Regions from separate parts of the Homo sapiens genome. Here regions 1, 2 and 3 are each linked to region 4. Evidence: promoter capture Hi-C in 16 types of primary human blood cells and fetal thymus (Javierre and others, 2016). All regions are on one chromosome and are shown on one strand. Each heading gives the region's core, a stretch centred on a gene start or on the middle of the fragment in contact. The rest is flanking DNA. Distances are from core to core; before and after follow the strand shown.

What was found. Contacts are between HindIII fragments. The CHiCAGO score rates a contact against its expected background, and 5 or more counts as called.
Region 1: a fragment that was not itself captured here is called in contact with the fragment with the promoter of OR52B4 in region 4 in 5 of 17 cell types (monocytes, neutrophils, M2 macrophages and 2 more); the score reaches 8.6 in monocytes.
Region 2: a fragment that was not itself captured here is called in contact with the fragment with the promoter of OR52B4 in region 4 in 4 of 17 cell types (monocytes, M2 macrophages, M0 macrophages and 1 more); the score reaches 6.3 in monocytes.
Region 3: a contact is called between a fragment that was not itself captured here and the fragment with the promoter of OR52B4 in region 4, in 2 of 17 cell types (monocytes and M2 macrophages). The highest score is 6.3, in monocytes.

What each region holds. Positions count from the first base shown.
Region 1 is chr11:4,510,690-4,513,467 of GRCh38, reverse strand. No RefSeq gene overlaps it. Among named protein-coding and RNA genes, the nearest start is that of OR52K1, 29 kb to the right of the region's middle. The HindIII fragment of the contact is 4,695 bases long and covers 1-2,778 here.
Region 2 is chr11:4,212,575-4,215,309 of GRCh38, reverse strand. No RefSeq gene overlaps it. Among named protein-coding and RNA genes, the nearest start is that of SSU72L5, 19 kb to the left of the region's middle. The HindIII fragment of the contact is 2,918 bases long and covers 1-2,735 here.
Region 3 is chr11:4,537,680-4,540,444 of GRCh38, reverse strand. No RefSeq gene overlaps it. Among named protein-coding and RNA genes, the nearest start is that of OR52M1, 6.1 kb to the left of the region's middle. The HindIII fragment of the contact is 2,376 bases long and covers 106-2,481 here.
Region 4 is chr11:4,367,115-4,369,814 of GRCh38, reverse strand. It overlaps OR52B4 (olfactory receptor family 52 subfamily B member 4), which reads left to right and starts at 1,429. Exons shown (of 1, transcript NM_001005161.3): 1 at 1,429-2,552. The coding sequence starts at 1,520. The coding sequence ends at 2,464. The HindIII fragment of the contact is 6,509 bases long and covers 1-2,700 here.

The DNA.
Region 1 (2,778 bases), core at 185-2,684, 140 kb before region 4:
TGCCTAACTCCAGGATCAAGTTGAGTCACATTTTATTTAATTTTCTCTATCGTCTTGACAATAAGAGGTGGTCATTCCTCCATCTTTATCAGGGTCTCTGCAGTCCAATGTCTGAATCTAACTATTGAGAGAAGATAGGCTTCTGTGAACATAATTTTAGTGCCAAATGTAATCTACTGATTAGTATCTTTTCCTCAACTCCAAATAGAAGTCTGGGCCGAAACTTATTTTACAGATGATCTCCTAATCGTAAGTCCAGGCATTGGAGAAGATGATACTCAAGTCCAACAGTAGCACCAGTGCTGAGGAAAGTGACCAGGACCTTTTCTCACAGGAGATCTCTTTGGCATAATGCCTAAAATCTTTTTATACCATGTAAAGCAGAGTGTGCATATAGTGCGGGGCTCTTAAAACCTGCCCTTAATTAAAACTAGTAGGATTAGTATTATACTAAAAACTTCCTGAAAGAATAACCTTAGAAAACCCATATCAAAGTATTTTTCCCTGGATCATCTGCTGGGTCTATCACAGACCAGGACCAAATACCAATCATTTCCAGTGTCTTCACATGGTGTTGAATGATAGCAGATAAAGAAAATATCACTTGTATGTATGCTACTAGTCTATCCAGGGACAAACACTCATGACAAGTTCTATCATACTTGGGGTATGACCTGAAGTACATTACAGCATTTAGTCCCACTGTCAGCAGTAGTCATGGGTAGGCCACTTCCTGGTGAAGGGGTTATCTCCAAACAGGATGGAAGGGAACATACACTGGAGAATGCATATTATAAAAATGAGACAAGCCCAACAATTGAATCTCTTATTCAAAGCCAATGTCACATTTCCCTGTCACACAAATGTTTCTTTCCCATCACTAAGACTTAAAGTGGAAATAAAATACACTACCGTCAACCCCTTTTGAGTCTGCAGGTTTTCACGGAAAAAAGCAAAGATTGGGAGACACTTGAGAGAGGAGGCATTATTGTGATTTTATGTTCTTAACAGGTGGCTAAGAACCTCTGCTCTGAAATCAAAGACAGAGATGGATCTGAAACAGTATCTGTCAGACCAGACATGTTGTATAATGTAAACCTCAGTTTCCTCTTGAAATGAAACTAATGGCAGCCCCTTACAGATATTTTATAAGGATGTGATAACGTAAAATGCTTCTCTAGTGCCTGGCACACAAAGAATAAAAACATGCCTCTTAATACTTACCATACACTAAAAGGCTCTGGGGGGTTGGAGGTGGTGATAATGTGAGAAGAGTAACTAGAACAAATTCCAGGAAAGGCCAGAGAATGTTCTCATAATGACTTATGAATGTACTGGTTTTGGCTTTAGAAAGCTCCCTCCATTTGCTTCTCTGCAGAAAGTTGTATAAACAGAGCCAGCTTTTCTCTGCTCCCCTTGACTGCCCGGCACCCACTCATGTACCTCTGAGGCTTTTCAACTAGAGTTACACCCACCTAATCAGCTCTGTGTTGGTAAAAAACAAAATACCTCTAGATAATTCCTTGTATAACAAGCATAAAACTTAGTCACAGATCCAGTTATGTAAAACTATAATTGCCTTCAGCTTTTTCTACATCAGCCAGAATGGGTCTTTGAATAAACATAAAATGAGTCATAGACAACAGCCACATTCTACCAAATCCAATTAACATTGATCTTAGTTGATTCTAGTTCATAATTCATTCTGATACAATTTTCAAAACACCCCCAGGAGTTTTTCTATCACCTTCATGTGTTAGATTTAAAACTGCAGTAGAGGATGAAATGGCCTTTTACAGAATTGTCACAATGGAAGTCACATGAAAGAGGAATGCCTTCTGCTTGCTGTTCCCTGTCTGGCCTTCAAGCCAGATGTGTCTTGTTCTGTAACATATGGTGCTGCCTCACATCATGACCTGTGGGCACTGACCCTCCTGGATTTTCTGGTATTGTTGATCCACTGAAATCAGTCGTAGGATCCTGGAAGAGACCAGCTGGTCCACATCTGTCTGGAACCCATCCTTCATCGTGACTGCAGGACTCTGTGCAAACTAGCCAGTATGATCATTGTTGCTCTTAGCCAAGTTCCTCATCTCGCTGTGCCCCAGGAGCGCTCAGAATTCACCCCACAGCACTGGGAGTCTTGGGAGCCTCAGCTTGAGGGTGTTGGGGGTGTGCTGATCCCAACGAATGTCTCCTCTACTGCCAGGCACCAGAGGATCTTTTGTGCTTAACCTAATCTGAAGCCAGGAAGAAAAACCTATTCTACCACTTTAGATCCTTATAGAACTCTTTTCTATATTTTGTGATCAAGACTTTTGAACTGAAAAGATAAGAATTGGATGTATTTGTTCTCTGACCTGATTTGACATCTCCCTGAGGTAAATGGTGAGTCCAGAATTTGCAGACAGAGTAGAAGTGGTCACAGAAGAAATGAAAATAATTCCCTAGGGAATTATTTGGGATATTCGTCTTTGTCTCCATAGTTTAATGTGACCATTCTTCATAAATTATGCACTGTCCTGCCATTCCTGAATACTTGGTCAGTCAGAATGGAGGCTTTTAGAGAAACATTTTTTCCTCCCTATCATTTGCAAACCTCAAAGTTATATTCATGGCAGAGTAGCCTCTGTCCTGCTAGAGAGGCTTAGTAAGAGGCCCTGGCTGTCAGGGCCTTCTCTGGCTGTACTCTAGAAGTTCAGGTATTGGCCCTGAGAAATGCCTCTGCAGAAAATCTGAGAATAAAAGCCTAAATCTGAGGGATATGACCTTCTGGAA
Region 2 (2,735 bases), core at 38-2,537, 150 kb after region 4:
GACTTCTCTACTAAATCATTCTGCTGTTTCTTCTGTTCCCTCTAGACTCTAGTGCCTATGGCCAACCTTGGAAAGGCATGGCCAAAGCACCTGTGTGAGCCACTGCTACAGAATCTGGAGGAGCTGACATAGAGAAGAAACTCAGGTTCCTCCTGAAGGACCCATCCATGGAGAGGTCCTCCCAGATACCCTGGGGCGAGGTGATGAAGACCTGGGACAAGGCCCTCAGCCACAGGAAGAAGATGACCATGAAGAGCTTGGGGAAGCAAATGCAGAGAAAGGCCTGTGTGTGTGGTAAGTGTGGGAAGGATTTGTGTTTGCGGCAACCACCCTCTGCTGTTCTCCCTTTGCATCCTGCCTTCTTTCAGTTCTAGTTTTCCCTTTAGATCCTTTTTTTCCTTTCACCTCCTCATCACCCACCCCTTCACTTCCCTCCACTGTTTGCCCACCATCCCTTTTCCTCCTGTTCCTCATTAGCCTGTGTGTGTGTGTGTGTGTGTGTGTGTGTGTGTGTGTGTGTGTGTCCTTGATTACCTCCACCTGTTCTTTCCACTTGCCATTTCAAAGGTGAAATGTCCTGCTCTCACTCAGAGATAATGTAGCTCCTCACTAGGTGGAAAGCCAGCATATTTTCACATGTTCAGTGACCTTGCCTGGAAGGAAGTAAAAGTCAGTTGACCCCAAAAAGCCCATCGCCACCACCACCACCTCAAGACCAGAGTTCAGGGGCCATGTTCTGGGTCAGTGACCTACTGGTATCACCAGAGTGAAGCTGAAAGGGGCCAAGAAGATGTATAAGCAATTCCAGGAAGGTCTGTAATAAGACTTTGAGGAGAGCCAGAAAGAACTTTCCCCTCCTTGGCCAGAAGCAATGCACGCCACAGAGTTCTGAGGGAAAGGGCCCTAGCGCTGCTTTCCTGGGGAGTGAGGCGCACACTCCACACCCACCTGAGTCCCCTGTCCACTGTTTCCTGGATCCGGTTTTAGTCTGTTGTGCAGCTTCCCTAATAAGGGGTAAGTGTTTCTTTGGCTGGCTGAAAGAGGCCTGCTCCTTTCCTGGTGCTATGAATCCAGGTGGGACTGCAGTGGCTCTTCTATGGCCATTGACTGTGTGAGCCCCACGGTAAGGCGGGGAGGAGGCAGGACAGGATGCAGGCATCCAAAGACACCACTGTGAGCTCTCTGAGGGGTCAGAAGACACAGAGAGCCATCCCTTATCACTTAGGAAATTCTGAGTTATTGACAATAAATGTGGCAGGGTACAGGAGGAGAGAGCTCTTGTAATTAAGTGATTGCTTCAAATATATCACCGCCCTCTAGAGATGGGAAATACCTAGACCAAGAATTCTTTCAGAGCCATATCTCAGATACGACAGGACTTCCTGTCGTAAGATAATAAACAGTACCATACTTTAAAAGCCAGTATTTCTAGTATCATAGTATTACTGTGTTTCTCTCTGTTTATCCCTGAGCCCCAGGGAGGTCTTGTTAGAGTGTACCAGCACTGTGACAGCTGGCAGATGGGGCACTGAGAGCCGGAGGAGGTGAGGACCGGTCACTCCACAGGCCTCCCCGACGTCTGCAGCGCTTGTAGGGACATCTAAGGGGCCAGTGTGACTTAAATACACTGCATAAGTTTGAAATGCATGTAGTTTTAGCTTTTGTTAAAATGGTTTTCCTTTATAGTCAGTTTTGAGGGTTTTTTAAATGTTATAAACATCTTTTTCATTGTTACTACTTTTTTTCCGTTTTCGTCCATCCTAGAAAAAAAAAATGTTGCCCTCAAAATTATCTTGTCTTTCTGCAATTGCCTTTGAGAAGGCTCATCTTCTCCAGACACATTATCATCTGAAATCAGTAGACAATCTTGTATTCTGTGACTGAACCCAAGTTTATTTCATCCAAACAACTTCAAACACCCAAGCAACAATATATACCTAGTATATTTTAGGACATCAGTAATGTCCTTTAAAAAGTGAACCTTTTTTTAAGCTACATTTTCTCATGTGTGTTCATTGAGGTTCTTACAGAAAGCTGCACTGCACGGTTGTCGGCCCTTTTTAAAGTCAACAGTTGACTCAGAAATAAAATATACTTAAAAATCTTATTATTTCTTATATTTTAAGTTCAGTTTTTAAAACTTTCTAAAAAATGTTACCGGTCATTTTTAAGTAGCCATTACAACCTAGTTAATAAGTCTTCATAAAAAATTCAAAGTGTTTATAAATAATTACAGTTTTGATTTCCTTAAATATAGAGATTGATTTTCATTTTAAAAATGTTTTAATAAGTTTCTAACTAGTTCTTATAATCTAATAAAATAAATTTAGAATTATAGTGGATGTGAGGTTCTCATACATGTTGTTAACATAACTTGCTGAAATATTATTACACATTTCAATTTAAAATTACTTCTTGGTAATTATTTATATGCACATTTAAAAGTTGACGTCAGGCATGGTGGCTCACTCCTATAATCCTAGCACGTTGGAAGGCCGAGGCAAGATCACTTGAGCCCAGGAGTTCTTGATTAGGCTGGGCAACAGTGAGACCCCCAACTCTATTTTTAAAAATACATAAATAAAAGTTGAAATCTGTTAAGCACTATATCTGGTAGGTACTATAATATGCCAAATTATCTAAATATTACAAGATCATAAAGTAACAAATACGTATTATTCTTATACATAATTCGAAAATATAAATACAATGGCTTTGATCTATTTAACCATCTC
Region 3 (2,765 bases), core at 44-2,543, 170 kb before region 4:
AAGGATCTCATTTTCACTTCCACTCCCCTTTCAGAGGGTTCTAACTCTATAGAACCTCGGGAGAAGCTGGGAACTTCCAGAAGCTTGCAACCTGCTCCCCAAGCTTACATTTTACATTCTGTGTGAAATTGCTGGTAGTGGCCAAAATATACAGGATCCTTCTATCCTGCATGTATGCTGTACCCTTAGTCCTACTTTTTTATTTGGCTGTCAGTCTATACAGATTCATATCTAGATTTTGAAATTCATATCCAGATTCATATCTAGCATTTACCACCTCCAGTGGATAAACTCTGCTTTGACAAACTTAGTATCTGTCTATTCTGTATCTGGATGCCTTGTACAACATTTGAAAACTAAAAGTAGCCAATAAACCAACGTACTTGTTGAATTATCCTTAAGGTTACAGTAAGTCCTCATCCCTTAATTTGATGCACAAACTTTCAAAACCTCATTGTTCCAACTTAAGGGAGATATGCCTCAGATGTGCAGGAAAAAGTGTTACCTTTCACTATAGGAAAATATCTTAAGTTACACAGAAGAGATACATATTCAGTCTTGGAAACAGATCTGAATCAGAAGCAAACATTGACATTCTAACACTGTCCCCATTCTAACACTGTCCAGGAGAGGGCACCCTGGCCCCCAAATGAGATTATGCCACTGGCTGACGGGGCTCTGCAACACAAACATAGAGCTTGGTGTCGTTAAATATCTTAAACCTTCATTTGAATGCAACTACTCAGATTTTCCCATTCAATCCTATTTTATAGCTAGGTCTCCCATATGTGGGTCAATCAAAGATGAAAAGTCAGACCAACACAATACCAACAACAACAAGTTGAATATTGAATATTGGACTCTCAGTCTATAACTTTATCAGTTCAGTGTTATAATTTCTCTGAAATAAACATTGTTCATGTTCAATTCTAGAATAAAATTCTAAACTTGTTAGCCCAGATGCTTAATTGGAGTACATGGAGATATAAATACCAACTGAGGGACTTATATACATCTCTGAAGCCTGCGAATTTCCCTCAAATGGGAATACTGATGCTATAATAGGGAAAGCATTTTTCTTAAAGCCACCTTCCCAGCCTCACAAGAAGTACATCCAGGATTCTGGCTCTGAGATCAAACTTGAGCTCATTCTTGTCCATGACAGAAGTGGTATACTGCCATGGTTGAGTATAGACCACAGCCCCAGTGCCAGTTCTGACACTTACAAGATTTGTCTTTGACCAAGTTATGCCTAAATCTTTAGACTTCCTTTTTCACCCCGATCTCCATTCCTAAGTCTCATTTATTTTATTTCAATAATTTTTGGAAAGCGGGGGGTTTTGGTTACATGGGTTAGTGGTGATTTCTGAGACTTGGTGCACCTGTCACCTAAGCAGTAAATGCTGGACCCAGTGTGTAGCCTTCTATTCCTCACTCCCTCCCATCCTTCCTCACGGAGTCCCCAAAGTCCATTATATCATCCTTATGACTTTGCATCCTCATAGCTTAGCTCCCACTTATAAGTGAGGACATACAATATTTGGTTTTTCATTCCTGAATTACTGTCACTGAGAACAAGGGTCTCCAACTTTATTCAGGTTGCTGCAAATGCCATTATTTCACTCCTTTTTCTGGCTGAGTTGTATCCCATATTATGTATGTATACGCACCAATTTTCTCTATCTACTTGTTGGCTGATGGACATGTAGGCTGGTCCCACATTTTTGCAATTGTGAATTGGGCTGCTATAAACGTATATACAAATGTCTTCTTTATGTAATGTCTGATTGCTTTTGTGAGTTTACCTTCTGCAGGAACAACCCTATGAGAGAACAACTGTTTTTGAAACAGGGCCTCACTTTGCTGCCCAGGCTGGAGTGCAGCAGCACGAACATAGCTCACCACAGCCCCAACCTCCTGGGCTGAAGCTCATCCTCCTAAGCAGCTGGGACCAGAGGAACATGCCACCACACCCAGCTAATTTTTAATGAGATGTGAACTTCTTTAATCTCCACTTCTCAGATCAGAGATGTGAAGTACAGTCTAAGCAATTTGCCTAAGATTTCCACAGTGGTTAAAAGCAAAAGTTTTGGGTTTGTGTGCCCTAGGTTCAAATTCTACATCTTCCTTACATTGCGTGTACTGTGTTCTCAACTTTCTGGAACTCTTCCATAAATACTTATAAAATGTCAAACATTCCAAAACTACAACAGTGGGGGAAGGGGGAGCTTTTTAATCAAGAACAGTACTTACTCTTAGCCCTCAATGGTGGTCAATCTCTGTCTCATGCACCTCAATACAAAACAGATAAGTTTGGGGTTACTTATTACTGTTTCCAGAGTTTTGTTCTTCCATCTTTTGTCAAAAGCTCATGACCATATGGCATTAGCTGCAAATGTCACCCTTTTATTCCTCCTTACTTAAAGACATGTTGAAACTTATGGAAGAACATCATTGAGGATTTTTCTACCTGGATAAGCTTTCTACTTCATCCCAGTTTCTGGTATCCATGGAGAAGACTTAGACTCTGCAGACAAACCGTTCAACTCCATAACTGACTTCTGAACCTCCTCAGTCCCACTTTCATTTTTTTAAATTATACTTTAAGTTCTAGGGTACATGTGCACAACATGTAGGTTTGTTACATATGTATACATGTGCTGTGTTCGTTTGCTGCACCCGTTAACTCGTCATTTACATTAGGTATTTCTCCTAATGCTATCCCTCCCTCATCCCCCCACCCAACAGGCCCCGGAGTGTGATGT
Region 4 (2,700 bases), core at 180-2,679:
ATAACTAAGAGCCAATTATCCTCCCCAGAAAGAAGAGGATGCACCAAGAGTGTGAACTAGAATGGAAGAAAAAATATTACTGATCATAAGATATATCTTAGCCAACAACTAAATATTTTAAGATATTCCTTTATTTAATATCCTCAGAAACCCCATGAAGAGTGTATTTTATTATTTGTTGCCATTTCTTCATTCCATTGAAAATGGGATTCAATATGGCTGTCTTCTCAGAAGGCACTCTCTGAAGCCATTCCACATGGAACATTTAGTAAATCTATTTACTCACAAGCCCACCATTCTCTGAAACCATAAAGCTATTTAGGACTCAGGCACATAGCATGATGCAGGAAAAAATAGTCAATGCTCAAAATATGCCTGTGAATGAATCCACTAATGAGTGAAGAAGAATATTCTAGGAAGTAAATGATGAAGTTACATGTTCATTTCTACCAGCAGAAGAATTTCTCAAATATCAAGAACTGCAACCCCTCTTCATCCCCCAGAAATAACTCTTTACCTAATTTCAGTCACTTCTAAGCCTAGTTCCCTGGGGTGTGAGCACAAAGAGTGCCTCATCTCAGATAAAGAGGTACCTTGACCCTCTTCATAAGTGAGCAAACTGTATGTGGTGAAGTCAGAGGTTTCAAATCTCATTTCTATCAATTGCTGCTTTGTGACAAGTGGCAAGTTATTCACATTGTCTAAGACTCACTTTCCTTAAGTGTGAAATAGGGGTACTATCCAGTTCTAAGAGTGGATGTCTACTCCCTGCATTAAGAACGTACAAAGTGCAAACTACAGCCCGTGGCATAAAGTGATGCTTAATAAACATTAGCTAAATTCTCCTGCGACTGTAATACAATAAGATTTTGTCCACTCCTGGAACACCACTGGCCTTTTAGGCTTTAGTGTCTTCAATCAATCAACGTTCCAACAAATATCAACAGATCATCTTTCTAAACTAATGACTGCCCCTGTGTAAAGGATGGGGCCTAAGAGTGAAGTTGTGATCGAAGCCCTTCACATTCAGGAAAAACCTGCCTATACCATCACCTCCCTTGTTCTCCTCAGTACTCCTTATGCACCAGCCACCCTGGCCTGAAAATATTTCAGAAACATACTGTGCATTGATCTGTACACTCACCTTTTCTTATGCTACTTTCTTTCTCTCTTCATTATTAACTTTACGATAAACTACTCAATTTTAAGTATCACCTTATTCAGCTTTCCCACACAGAAATAATAATTTCCTCTGTATATTCATAATCCTCCATTCATAATTAAAGCGCATACAATAATGTCTCTTATTCTGATTACTTGGAGATATTGTCTGGCTGTCATTCATTAGAGTATAGACCACCACCTTTCATATTTGCATGTTTGTTATTTACATGTTCAAAGAAGACGAAGATTATGGAATATGCCATAAGCTCCTGGTGACATCGCAAAGAATGTTGCAGATTTTATCTTCTTCTACCTCTGTGAGTAGGAGGTGAGGTTCTGAAAGTTCTCCCCAGCTATGCCTACTGTAAACCACAGTGGCACTAGCCACACAGTCTTCCACTTGCTGGGCATCCCTGGCCTACAGGACCAGCACATGTGGATTTCTATCCCATTCTTCATTTCCTATGTCACCGCCCTTCTTGGGAACAGCCTGCTCATCTTCATTATCCTCACAAAGCGCAGCCTCCATGAACCCATGTACCTCTTCCTCTGCATGCTGGCTGGAGCAGACATTGTCCTCTCCACGTGCACCATTCCTCAGGCCTTAGCTATCTTCTGGTTCCGTGCTGGGGACATCTCCCTGGATCGTTGCATCACTCAGCTCTTCTTCATCCATTCCACCTTCATCTCTGAGTCAGGGATCTTGCTGGTGATGGCCTTTGACCACTATATTGCCATATGCTACCCACTGAGGTACACCACCATTCTTACAAATGCTCTGATCAAGAAAATTTGTGTGACTGTCTCTCTGAGAAGTTATGGTACAATTTTCCCTATCATATTTCTTTTAAAAAGATTGACTTTCTGCCAGAATAATATTATTCCACACACCTTTTGTGAACACATTGGCCTAGCCAAATATGCATGTAATGACATTCGAATAAACATTTGGTATGGGTTTTCCATTCTAATGTCGACGGTGGTCTTAGATGTTGTACTAATTTTTATTTCCTATATGCTGATTCTCCATGCTGTCTTCCACATGCCTTCTCCAGATGCTTGCCACAAAGCTCTCAACACATTTGGCTCCCATGTCTGCATCATCATCCTCTTTTATGGGTCTGGCATCTTCACAATCCTTACCCAGAGGTTTGGACGCCACATTCCACCTTGTATCCACATCCCGTTGGCTAATGTCTGCATTCTGGCTCCACCTATGCTGAATCCCATTATTTATGGGATCAAAACCAAGCAAATCCAGGAACAGGTGGTTCAGTTTTTGTTTATAAAACAGAAATAACTTTGGTTTAAGAACTGAGTTTTCAGAATCTCTAGCTATCTGGTAAGTGGGTATGAAAGTGGTAGATGGGAGAGGTCAGCTGATACCGTAGGAAATAACTCAGTGAGTACGATGTCTGGAGCAAGGTCAACTGGGAAGTTACAGGGCTTATTCTTCCATTTTTTAAACAACCTAGGAAAGCAATGCAATGTTTGACTGAACAAACTACCTCCTGCACAGAGCCTGAGAGAGAATAG